Regions from separate parts of the Homo sapiens genome. Here region 2 is linked to region 1. The links are contacts of gene promoters, found by promoter capture Hi-C in human tissues and cell types (Jung and others, 2019). All regions are on one chromosome and are shown on one strand. Each heading gives the region's core, a stretch centred on a gene start or on the middle of the fragment in contact. The rest is flanking DNA. Distances are from core to core; before and after follow the strand shown.

Region 1 (6,364 bases), core at 1,963-4,462:
GCTGTTTTGAAAATAGTACAGAGAGTTCTTGTGTACCCTTCACGTAGCTTGAGAACTTTTTATTTTATTTTATTTTTGAGCGAGAGTCTCACTCGGTCACCCAAGCTGGAGTGCAATAGCATGATCTCAGCTCACTACAACCTCCACCTCCGGGTGCAAGCGATTCTTATGCCTCAGCCTCCCAAGTAACTAGGATTACAGGCATGTGCCACCATGCCCCACTAATTTTTGTATTTTAGTAGAGACAGGTTTTCACCATGTTGGCTAGGCTGGTCTCGAATTCCTGACCTCAAATGATCCACCTGCCTCAGCCTCCCAAAGTGCTGGGATTACAGGCGTGAGCCACCACACCTGCCCCCTGCCCACCCCCCAGAACTTGTTTTTTTTTTTTTTTTTGGAGACGGAGTCTTGCTCTGTCACCCAGGCTGGAGTGCAGTGGCCCGATCTTGGCTTACTGCAACCTCTGCCTACCGGGTTCACACCATTCTCCTGCCTCAGCCTCCCGAGTAGCTGGGACTACAGGCGCCTGCCACCATGCCCGGCTAATTTTTTTGTATTTTTAGTAGAGATGGGGTTTCACCGTGTTAGCCAGGATGGTCTCGATCTCCTGACCTCGTGATCCACCCTCCTCAGCCTCCCAAAGTGCTGGGATTACAGGCGTGAACCACCGCGCCCGGCCACCCCCCAGAACTTCTTATACAACCATAGAGCGACAATCAAACCAGGAAATTGACATTGGTACAATACTCTTTTTTTCTTTTTTGAGACGGAGTCTTGCTCTTTTGCCCAGGCTGGAGTGCAGTGACTATCTCAGCTCACTACAACCTCTACCTCCTGGGTTCAAGCGATTCTCCTTCCTTAGCCTCTCAAGTAGCTCGAAGCACAGGTGCGTGCCACCATGCCCGGCTAATTTTTTTGTATTTTTAGTAGAGACAGGGTTTCACCGTGTTAGCCAGGATGGTCTCGATCTCCTGACCTTGTGATCCGCCAGCCTCGGCCTCCCAAAGTGCTGGGATTACAGGCGTGAACCACCGCGCCCGGCCACAATACTCTTAATGAAACTACAGACCATAGTAGGATTTCACCAGGGCTTAGAGCAATGTCTGGCACGTAGTGAACCTTACACAGGTGAAAGGACTTCACTACCATGACGATGATGATGATGAAGATGATAATGATGATGTTGGACTTTCTAGCACAGCCAGATTGATATGGTGCCTATTTTCAGAGCATGCCATGTTAGTTTCTATATCTAAACCTTTTTTGGCCTGGCACGGTGGCTCACGCCTGAAATCCCAGCAATTTGCGAGGCTGAGGTAGGCAGATTACTTGAGCTCAGTAGTTCGAGACCAGCCTGACAAACATGGAGAAACGCCATCTCTACGAAAAATACAAAATTAGCCGGGTGTGGTGGCACATGCCTGTAACCCCAGCTACTCAGGAGGCTGAGGCAGGAGAATCGCTTGAATCCTGGAGGCAGAGGTTGCAGTGAGCCGAGATTGTGACACTGCACTCCAGCCTGGCAACAGAGTGAGACTCTGCCTCAAAAAACAAAAAACAAACCAAAACCCCCACTTTTTTTCTATGAAACCAGCCTCGCTCTGTCACCCAGGCTGGAGTGCAGTGGTGCCATCATGATCCTCCCACCTCAGCCTCCCGAGTAGCTGGGACTACAGGCATGTACCACTATGCCTGGTTAATATTTTTATTATTTGTAGAGATGAGGGTCTCAGTATGTTGCCCAGGCTAGTCTTAAACTCATGAGTTTAACCAATCCTCTCGCCGCTGCCTCCCAACGTGCTAGGATTACAGGTATGAGTCACGGTGCCCGGCTTCTTTCTTAACTCTTTCTAGTAGTTCTACCACTTGGGATTACCTTTTTCCTTCCTCTCCATTTACCTTTATGAAATCCTCACATCCATCCATCTCCATCAAATCTTTAACAATTCTCCTCTGTCTTTTTTGACTGTAGGGACCTTTAGAACACCCAGCATTAAAAAATAGATTTCAGGCCGGGCATGGGGGCTCACGCCTGTAATCCCAGCACTTTGGGAGGGCCGAGGCAGGAGGATTTCGTAAGGTCAGGAGTTTGAGACCAGCCTGGCCAACATAGTGAAACCCTGTCTCTACTAAAAATCCAAAACTTAGCCGGCAGTAGTGGCGCGTGCCTGTAATCCAGCTACTCTGGAGACTGAGGCAGGAGAATTGCTTGATCCTGGGAGGTGGAGGTTGTGATGAATTGAGATCGCGCCATTGCACTCCAGTCTGGGCAACAGAGTGAGACCCTGTCTCAAAAAAACAAAAGGAATATTTTTTAAATTTTTACCGTTCTGAAAGCACATTGACATCCTTTGAATTTTTTTCTAATTATTTCACTTTGATTTGTAAATTCTCAACTAGATTCAGGGGCTGTATGGGTTACAATTCCTCTGCACCCTCCACAGAATTTCAGACTTTTTTTTTTCCCCCGAGACAGAGTCTCGCTCTGTCACCCAGGCTGGAGTGCAGTGGCGCGATCTTGGCTCACTGCAACCTCCCCCTCCCGGGTCAAGCGATTCTCCTGCCTCAGCCTCCCGAGTAGCTGGGACTACAGGCGCCCGCCACCACGCCCGGCTAATGTTTGTATTTTTAGTAGAGACGGGGTTTCACCATGTTGGCCAGGCTGGCCTCGAACTTCTGGCTTTAAGTGATCCGCCTGCCTCGGCCTCCCAAAGTGCTGCGATTCCAGGCGTGAGCCACCGCGCCCGGCCAAGGTCTTAATTCTTGCCTGCCTTTCTGCTCCCCTGTGAACTCTACTGGTTGTCTTTTTTCCTGCTTTATCCCTCGTCCTCGGTAGACAGTGATGGTTAAATGAATGAATGCATGAACAAATGACTGTCCAGGAGCTAGTACTGCATTGCATGTACACATTGATGACAACAGACATCGTACAATGCGCAATCTTGGCAAATTTATTCAAACCCTTTAGACTTCGCTCTCTCACAGTGCGACGCCGGGAGCCCATCACACGCTGAGGTCTGTCAGAGGCCCCAGAAACAGCCTCGGAAATGGAGGAGGCGGGGCTTCACCCCGACCACACCCCCTTGCGTTCAAAGCCTTTCCGCCTATGGGCCCGCCTCCTCGGCGCAGTGTGCAACTCTAATTGGTCGTCTCACTAATCCATCTGAGCACCTCGGCGCCGACTGGATCAACTGCTGAACTCGGGTTGCGCACTTCCCGGCGCTGGGAACGCGGAGCGGACGCAGTCTGGCCGCCATTGCGCTGCGGGGAAAGCGGCCTCTTGTGTGAGGGCCTGTGGGGTGCGTGGCAGGCGTTTAAGGCCGGGCTGCGGGAGGCGTGGTCGGGTCGGGCCGAGTGACCGAAGGGGTTAGGCCGGGCGGGGCTGGATGCACTGTGTGGCGGGACTGCAGGCCGGGGTCCCCGGACGCCTTTCTGCTGCGCTTCTTGTGGGCCCGGGCCTGTGGTTAGTGAATTTTTCTATCCCGCCGCTCCCCAGATTCTCCGGATATGGCCGGAGTGTTTCCTTATCGAGGGCCGGGTAACCCGGTGCCTGGCCCTCTAGCCCCGCTACCGGACTACATGTCGGAGGAGAAGCTGCAGGAGAAAGGTGAGGCGAGAGTGTGGAGCGGCGCGCGGGCCGGAGGCGGGGCGGGTGTGCGCGCGCGCAGGCGGGTGGGGACCCTCCCCGTTTGGGCAGCTCCTGAGGTGTCAGCTCCCTTGTTATTTCCAGTTAATTTTTCATCAAGTCATTTTAAGCGCGTATTATTTGCAAGCGCTGATCCAGCGGGGGTACAGTAGTGACGGAGACAAAATTCCTGTCCTTACGGGGTTTAAATTACAGCGGGAGAGACAGAGAATAACAAAACCTTGAAGCTCTGTAATAAAAATGTCAGGCCGGGCGCGGTGGCTCACGGTTGTAATCCCAGCACTTTGGGAGGCCCAGGCGGGCGGATCACCTGAGGTCAGGAGTTCGAGACCAGCCTGGCCAACACAGTGAAACCTCGTCTCTACGAAAAATACAAAAATGAGTCGTGTGTGGTGGCGCGTGTCTATAATCCCAGCTACTGGGGAGGCTGAGGCAGGAGAATGGCTTGAACCCAGGAGGCGGAGGTTGCAGTGAGCCGACATCGCACCATTGCACTCCAGCCTGGGAGACAGAGTGAAACAACCTCTCAAAAAAAAAAAAAAAAGTCAGATAGTGATCAATGTGATGAAAGGAAAAACAGAGTAAAATGGTAAGGGAATTGGCAAGGGGTGCTTCTTCCTGCTGGTGCCTGCTTCTCCCTCACACTCACTGACAGGAGCTTACCCTAGGGCAAGAGGTGAAGAGGATTAGGGGGAGGGTGTGCAGGCCTTTAAACTGAGGTGCCTTTCCAGCTCGAAAATGGCAGCAATTGCAGGCCAAGCGCTATGCAGAAAAGCGGAAGTTTGGGTTTGTGGATGCCCAGAAGGAAGACATGCCCCCAGAACATGTCAGGAAGATCATTCGAGACCATGGAGACATGACCAACAGGAAGTTCCGCCATGACAAAAGGGTTTACTTGGGGTAAGGAACATCCTGAAATAATTTCATTTGGAATTTGGCCCTTTTCCCTTCTCCCTGTCCCACAGTCTTGGATTGATGCTTTGACAGCTCATCTTGGTGGATATAAGAGAAAGGAGAAAACCAGTAGGAGTCTCTGATAATTTCTACATCTTCCACTTTTGCAGTCTGTTTCCCCTCTCTTCCCGATCTGGGACTGGTGCTTTAATTTGTCCTGTTGATGATATTATAAGATGTCCCTGGCCAGGCGCGGTGGCTCATGCCTGTAATCCCAGCACTTTGGGAGGCCGAGGCGGGTGGATCATGAGGTCAGGAGATCGAGACCATCCTGGCTAACACGGTGAAACCCCGTCTCTACTAAAAATACACAAAATTAGCTGGGCGTGGTGGCAGGTGTCTGTAGTCCCAGCTACTTGGGAGGCTGAGGCAGGAGAATGGCGTGAACCTGGGAGGCGGAACTTGTAGTGAGCCGAGATCACACCACTGCACTCTGGCCTGGGCGAAAGTACGAGACTCCGTCTCAAAAAAAAAAAAAAAATGAAAAATAAGATGTCCCTATGGTTGAGCTGGTTGAAGTCCAGAGTGGGATACTGTGCATAGTGGCAGCCTGTCGCTCCTCAGGGACCTGAATTCTGTGTTTGGGGTATTTAATTTCAGAGGTTTCCCTACTCCTGTTTTTTCTGTGGCTCTAAACTGGGCTAGTACAGGTACAGATGTCTTAGCAGATTCCTGTTCTATTTGGACACAAAAATGTTTGCCATGTAATGAACTGGAAGTTTTGTTTATTTCAAAAAATACTTAGAGAACTGTGCTGGCTGCTGGGGATATAGTAGCGAGCAGAGGGTAACAATCTCCGCCTTTCTGCAGTGTGCGGTCTAGTGGCCTGACAGACATGAGACAACTGGTGATAGTGAAGTATGGTGAATACTTTATTATGATTTATGGGAAGATGCGGAGGGAATAGGATGTGAGAGAGCCGCAAAGCTGTCTCCAGAGGGATAGCCGTTGATTTAGAGGAGCTGATACCAGCATTGTGGGATTATGACGTTTAAGAAGAGTGGTGCAAGGTGAAGTTGGAGAGGGAGAGGCAGGGTTTCTGGTTAGGAAGGGCCTGTGGGCTAAGTTTGGGAGTTTGGATTGTAAGGTAGGACTGTGGAACATGAACATGTGGCTTCTCTGCATGGGACAGGTAGCAGAACACCTCGTCATTTCTGATAGCCTTCTCTTTTTCTAATGTGCCAGTGCCCTAAAGTACATGCCCCACGCAGTCCTCAAACTCCTGGAGAACATGCCTATGCCTTGGGAGCAGATTCGGGATGTGCCTGTGCTGTACCACATCACTGGAGCCATTTCCTTCGTCAATGAGATTCCCTGGGTCATTGAACCTGTCTACATCTCCCAGTGGGGGTGAGAAAGGCTGAAATATGGTGGGTGGTGGTGGTGGTGGTGGTTGGGAGGCAGTGGGTAGAAATGGTTGTGTGATGTCTTGCCTTCCAGGTCAATGTGGATTATGATGCGCCGAGAAAAAAGAGATAGGAGGCATTTCAAGAGGATGCGTTTTCCCCCTTTTGATGATGAGGAGCCGCCCTTGGACTATGCTGACAACATCCTAGATGTTGAGCCACTGGAGGCCATTCAGCTAGAGCTGGACCCTGAGGAGGACGCCCCTGTGTTGGACTGGTTCTATGACCACCAGCCGTTGAGGGACAGCAGGAAGTGAGTGATAGATGGAGATACTACACCTGGGAGGAGTTCTGGAAATGCAGAAGGAGTCCTGGGAGATCAGTAGGTGGTATGGGTTTGTCTAGCTGCTTACTTGAG
Region 2 (6,397 bases), core at 192-2,691, 61 kb after region 1:
TGCCTCCAATTTTGGTTTTTCTTATTATCTGGCAAACATGCTGAGCCCACGTTCTGGGCGGGAAGGCTGCTGATTCCACACAGCTTATCTCTCTGGTCACACTGCTCCTTGATTCTTGGAGTCTGCATCACCAGTTTTCTTTCAGGCCAGAAATCCCCGCATTTGGCTCGTCTGGGAGTGCCTGGCGAAGTTAGGGTGAAGGTTTCTGCTTCAGTCTAACATTTTCAAACTTGGTGCATGGCTGAATTGCAGAGAAGCAGATAGGCCATTTTTGAATTTATTGAATTAGACTTGTGAAAGCCTGAGCAGTGTCCGGCTGATTGAGATGCAAATTTGTCAGCTTCGTGTCACTCTAGGACGATGCTTTAGTTTGTTCTCTAAAGAAAATTTGCCTGAACCTGTTGAAAGGTTCTTAGAACTCTTTCTTACGACTCCAGCCAGAATCTCGCCACAGACACCGTGTTGGGTTCCAGCCTGGTGAGGTGGCAGAAGGAAGGAAACAGCTCATTTCTCGGCTGCCCCGCAGTTTGTTCTTCCTTGCCTGCTGGGAGACGTGGCAGGCTGGGTTTGGGGACCTGGGTGCGGGAAGTTGGCAATGGGTTTTGCACAACGTCCTCCAGGTGTTGGCTGCTGGATGCCTCCCTCGTCCCCCTGGTGAGGGCAGGAGACCAGTTGGGTTCTCAGCCCGAGAAGCACGGGGCTTCCTGGAGCTGTGTCCTCTTGGCCTCTGGGATGGCAACGTGACGGCCCACTCCTGAGCTCTTTCTTCGTTTTCTCTGTTGTCCAGTGGCCCCCGCTTCAACAGGGTCAGGGTCAGCCTGGGGGGCTGCGGCTACCTGTGGATGGTTTTTTTTTATTTGAGACAGGGTCTCGCTCTGTTGCCCAGTCTGGAATGTAGTGTTGCAATCACAGCTCACTGCGGCCTTGACTCCTGGGCTCAAGCAATCCTCCCGCCTCAGCCTCCCGAGTAGCAGTAGCTGGGACTACAAGTGTGCGCCACCATACTCAGCTAATTTTTGTATTTTTTGTAGAGACAGGGTCTCGCCATGTTGCCTAGGCTGGTCTCAAACTCCTGGGCTCAAGCGATCCTCCTGCCTCAGCCTTCCAAAGTGCTGGGCCTGCAAGCATGAGCCATCAAACCCAGTTAGTTTTTTGTTTTTGTTTTTGGGATTACAGGTGCCCACCACCACGCCCGGCTAATTTTTGTATTTTTTAGTAGAGATGTGGTTTTACCATGTTGGCCTGGCTGGTCTCGAACTCCTGACCTCAGGTGATCCACCCGCCTTGGCCTCCCAAAGCACTGGGATTACAGGTGTGAGCCACCACGCCCGGTCAAATTTTTTGTAGAGATGAGGGTTTCATCACGTTGCTCAGGCTGGTCTCAAAACTCCTGGGCTCAAGTGATCCACCAGCCTCAGCCTCCCAAAGTGCTGGGACTACAGGTGTAAGCCACCATACCCAGTTAATTTTTAAATGTTTTGTAGAGATAGGGGTTTCACCATGTTGCCCAGGCTGGTCTTGAACTCCTGGGCTCAGTCGATCCACCCACCTCGGGCTCCCACATTGCTGGGATTATAGGCGTGAGCCACCGCTCCAGGCCTACATGTGGATCGTTAATCCCCTCTTTCTTGTAACCTAAACATTCAGTAAACATTGACGAAGGTGCCGTGCTGGGTGCAGAGGAAACAAGTCATCACACGCATACCTGTGTAACCCGTATAATTCCAGGGGGTGGTCGGGCCCCCAAGAAAGCAGGGCGCCAGGAGCTAGAACAGCAGCGGAGATGTGGCTCCTGCTGGGTGGGAGGGCCTCTCTGCGGTTCAGGTGGAAGCCTGGAGGTTGAGGAGGGGTGATTCAGGAGAGGAGGGTACACCCTGGAGGAGAGGAGGGTACACCCTGGAGGAGAGGAGGGTACAGCCTGGAGGAGAGGAGGGTACACCCTGGAGGAGAGGAGGGTACAGCCTGGAGGAGAGGAGGGTACAGCCTGGAGGAGAGGAGGGTACAGCCTGGAGGAGAGGAGGGTACAGCCTGGAGGAGAGGAGGGTACAGCCTGGAGGAGAGGAGGATACGCCCTGGAGGAGAGGAGGGTACGCCCTGGAGGAGAGGAGGGTACAGCCTGGAGGAGAGGAGGGTACACCCTGGAGGAGAGGAGAGAAGTGGGAAGGGGCGGGGGCTGCAGGGACTGGGAGGCCATTCGGGGAAACTGAATTTTATTCCCAAGACAGGAGGAAGCCAGGGAGATAGAGGAGGGCGACCATCCAATTCCCCTGTTAGAGGCTTGTGTGAATTGCTGAGGGCTTGCCACATGCTGGTATGTTTGGGTGGCATAGAAACCAGAAGTCATCACGGCCTCTGCCTGAGGAAGTCACCCACAGTCTGACCATGGGCATGAAGGCCGACCCCAGTTGTATGCTCTTGACCTCTGCAGTTTCTCCACCTGTGGTGGTGGGAGAGAGCCTCTCACCCTGGCACAGAGGTCCCTGCGAGCTCGCCCTGGCACAGAGATCGCTGCAAGGGCAGAGGGGCTGCCGCCCACCTTGGGGAAGCAGGCCCAGGCTTGATCCCCACGGGCTGAGTGAAGCTGCAGATGTGGACAGGAGATTTCTCTGCTGCCTCGAGGACCTCTTTTCTTGGGGGATGGGGAGGAGGGAACGGAGTTTCACTCTTGTCGCCCAGGCTGGAGTGCAGTGGCGCAGTCTCGGCTCACTGTAACCTCTGCCTCTCGGGTTAAAGCGATTTTCCTGCCTCAGCCTCCCAAGTAGCTGGGATTACAGGCGCCTGCCACCATACCCGGCTAATTTTTTGTATTTGTATTTGTATTTTATTTTATTTTATTTTTTTGAGATGGAGTTTCACTCTGTCGCCCAGGCTGGAGTACAATGGCATGATCTCAGCTCACCGCAAACTCCATCTCCCGGGTTAAAGTGATTCTCCTGCCTCAGCCTCCCAAATAGCTGGGATTACAGGTGCCCACCACCACACCCGGCTAATTTTTGTATTTTTAGTAGAGACAGGGTTTCACCATGTTGGCCAGGCTGGTCTCAAACTCCTGACCTCAGGTGATCTACCAGCCTTGGCCTCCCAAAGTGCTGGGATTACAGGCGTGAGCCACTGCGCCCAGCTCAAGGGCCTCTCTTTTTAGAGTCTCTCCTCACACCCACAGGCAAGTGTGGATAGTTTTTTTTTTTTTGAGACAGAGTCTTGCTCTGTCGCCCAGGCTGGAGTGCAGTGGCGCGATCTCGGCTCACCGCAACCTCCGCCTCCCGGGTTCACGCCATTCTCCTGCCTCAGCCTCCCCAGTAGCTGGGACTGCAGGCGCCCGCCACCACGCCTGGCTAAATTTTTTTGTATTTTTAGTAGAGACGGGGTTTCACCGTGTTAGCCACGATGGTCTTGATCTCCTGACCTCGTGATCCACCCGCCTCGGCCTCCCACAATGCTGGGATTACAGGCGTGAGCCACCGCGCCCAGCCGGATAGCTTTCTTAAATCCAGCCTTTCACTTTTATTGCTATAAATATGACTTTTAAACTTTTCCCCCAGTTTATTTGGAATTTTAAAAATTCCATAGCAATGGGTAAGAAGGTTTAAAGGCTGGGGCCGGCAGCCTCAGGATGCGTCTCAGAGAAGAGCTGGTGGCCTTGGCTCTTCCCACCGCCCCAGCCTCCCTCCTTCTTGGTTCGTGACCTCATTTCCCTCACAGACATCCACTGGCCACCCCTGGCTTCTGGTGTCCATGAAGGTCCTGTCCAGCTTAGGCTGGCTCTCAGGGACCTCGTGGGAGAGTCTTAGTCCCATTCCCACCAAGCGATATTCAGGGCCTCCTGGTGTTGCCGGCACATGGGCAGCCTTTTCCCGGCTCTGTTCTCTCAGCATTTTCTCTCTGGGATATGAGCCTCTAGCCCAGGTAGGCCAGCATCGGCACAGACCGAGTGGTAAGAGCGGGAGCTTTGGGGTCTGACAGCCTGGAGTCAAGCCCAGCTTCCCCAGGGACCCCCATGAGACCTTCTGCAAGTGACTTACCTGCTCTGAGCATCCCTCGGGGACACTCTGACAGTATCCTCGTGGGGAATATGGGGTGGGCGTGGGCACACCCGTTGAGCATGGCAGCTGGCACACACTTTCATTGCACACACGGCAGCCGCTGCTGGGACCACTGCTCAGGGGCCAGGCCCTGGTCAGCCCAGGACGGCCTCTGCCTGTCCGTGCCCTCCTGCCTGTTGTTTGCTCTGTGTCTGAGCCGACCTCTCACCTACATCTCCCCTGCCGGACTGAGGACTGAGATGCTGCTTCCTGTTGCCGGATAGACTAAGGATTTGAGAGACGGGAGATCCTGGGCAGGGGCCATCGGTGGGCTGTCCAGGGGCCCGCACCCTGGAGGGGGGGCTCGGAAAGCGACTAGTCAGGGAAGGGGGCAGCTCAGGAATTTAGAGGGGACCTCAAGCCAGGTACTTCTTGGCCCCCTCAAGCATCATCTTGGAGGCCCCCCTCCCTTTGTCTCCCCGGGGTGTGGGGAGGCTCCTCTTTGCCTCAGGGGAGCCTGGGGGGCCACAGCACCCTCTTTTCTCCCTGATTCCTCTGTAAAGATCTTGTGCGTCTTCTGTGAGTGGGGCTGAACGGTGTACGTCCTCCCTGGCCCTGGGTCTCCTCCTAAGCAGCCCTGTTCCTGTTCTTGGCACTCACTGGCCACACCAACTCTTGCCTGTCTTCTCAGTTCACCTTCTCTGGCCAGGCTGGGCTGGGCCACTTCTGGCCACCCCAGAGGAGGCATCTGTTTAATAAACAGGTGCAGGTGAGGAGCAGAGCAGCCTGGCCGGGGGTGAGCAGAGCAGGCTGGCCCGGGGTCAAGCTCCAGGCTGGGAGCAGAGGGCCACCCCACGCCTTGGCACTTCCTGGGTGCTTAATCTGTTTGTCTCTCTCCTGACCCACGGTGGCCCAGGTGGGACCAGAGGGAGAGGAACAGCCTGGGTGTGTCTGTTTGGGCATCTGCTGGGTGCATGTGGGCTGTTTACTGTCAACAGAGCTTCTGGGCTCACCAAGGGCTTCCTTCCCTCCAGCAGGAGGGAGACTCTCAAATTGCTCCACAAGCAGAAGGAGAAGCCGCTCACCTCCCCGGCCCCAGGCGCCTCTGTTGCTGGACGGGACGGCCTGGAGGCAGGCGGCCGGGCAGAGGGCCTGGTGGCCCCATCGGCAGGGATTTGTTTAAGACGAGAAGGCTGTTGGCCTACGTGCAAGGTCCCTGCCCCTGTGTGTAGTCGCTCCAGGGTAAAAGATGGGAAGGACAGATACCCTTGCCTCTACCCTGACCTTGCCTCTTCCCTATGTGGTTAAAGGGGTGACCAGATCTCTAATCAATTTAAGACTTTTGTTTGTTTGTTTGTGTGTTTGGAGACAGAGTCTCACTCTGTGGCCCAGGCTGGAGTGCAGTGGCACAATCTCGGCTCACTGCAACCTCTGCCTCCTGGGTTCAAGCGATTCTCCTGCCTCAGCCTCCAAAGTAGTTGGGGTTACGGGTACCTGCCACCAAGCCTGGCTAAATTTTTTTGTATTTGTAGTAGAGATGGGGTTTCACCATGTTGGCCAGGCTGGTCTCAAACTCCTGACCTCAAGTGGTCCGCCTGCCTCGGCCTCCCAAAGTGCTGGGATTACAGGCGTGAGCCACCGTGCCTGGCCTAGCCTTGGGATTTTTATCTTCTGGCTCTAGATGAGAAAACCCATGGGTTTAGAGACCCAGCTGTGGTTCCTCCCTGGGGTAACTGGAGGTCCCTGGTGCCTTTACTCAGGCAGTGCTGCCTCACCCACTCCATTCCTTGTCCCCGTGGCTCCTGCTTGCAGCAGTAGAACGTGCAGCCCCCCAAGCCCTCAGTTATTCCACGGCCCCTGTGCAGTCACTGTCCCCACAAGTCACCCATCCTGGGCCCTGGCGTGCTCTCTCCATCCATCCTCTCTGTCACCTCTGTGCTGGTTTGCTCCTATCTGCATGTCAACCTGGAAATGGCTGTTGCTTTGTAGAGACCCTCTTTCCCTGACTTCAGAGCCAATTCCTTTGCTGCTGGCAGAGCTGACATTTGAAACCAACACCAACTCACAAAGCAGCTCCTCCTTTCCAGAAGCTGCCCCACTGTGGATGGGCGAGTGGCCCAGGCCTGTCGGCTGTGGCGGTGTACATGACCGCTCTGAGCTCCACCCTGACGGGCTCGAGGACCCCGTCTGCCATGTGTTTGGCTGACCGTGTGGTAGAGCTTCTTTTTGGAAAACCGAGAGAAAGTGGCCGAGGTGGGAATCTGGTTGGTGACGTTGTATTTCTGTGGCTCCACATGGTTAACCTCGTGGCTCTGATCTCCTTAAATCCCCCCTCGATTCAACGTGGTTCTGTTGATTCCTCTCTCGATCTTTTT

What was found. The method cuts DNA at HindIII sites, captures the fragments that hold promoters and counts their contacts. A contact is called where the count stands out against the background at its distance.
Region 2: a fragment that was not itself captured here is called in contact with the fragment with the promoter of PRPF8 in region 1 in 1 of the 25 tissues and cell types used here (H1 embryonic stem cells).

The regions. Positions count from the first base shown.
Region 1 is chr17:1,681,715-1,688,078 of GRCh38, reverse strand. PRPF8 (pre-mRNA processing factor 8) reads left to right here and starts at 3,212. Exons shown (of 43, transcript NM_006445.4): 1 at 3,212-3,299; 2 at 3,497-3,607; 3 at 4,378-4,546; 4 at 5,786-5,950; 5 at 6,041-6,259. The coding sequence starts at 3,508. The HindIII fragment of the contact is 7,907 bases long and covers 1,988-6,364 here.
Region 2 is chr17:1,619,358-1,625,754 of GRCh38, reverse strand. All of the region lies in intron 2 of SLC43A2 (solute carrier family 43 member 2), which reads left to right. Among named protein-coding and RNA genes, the nearest start is that of SLC43A2, 6.3 kb to the left of the region's middle. The HindIII fragment of the contact is 4,391 bases long and covers 1-3,636 here.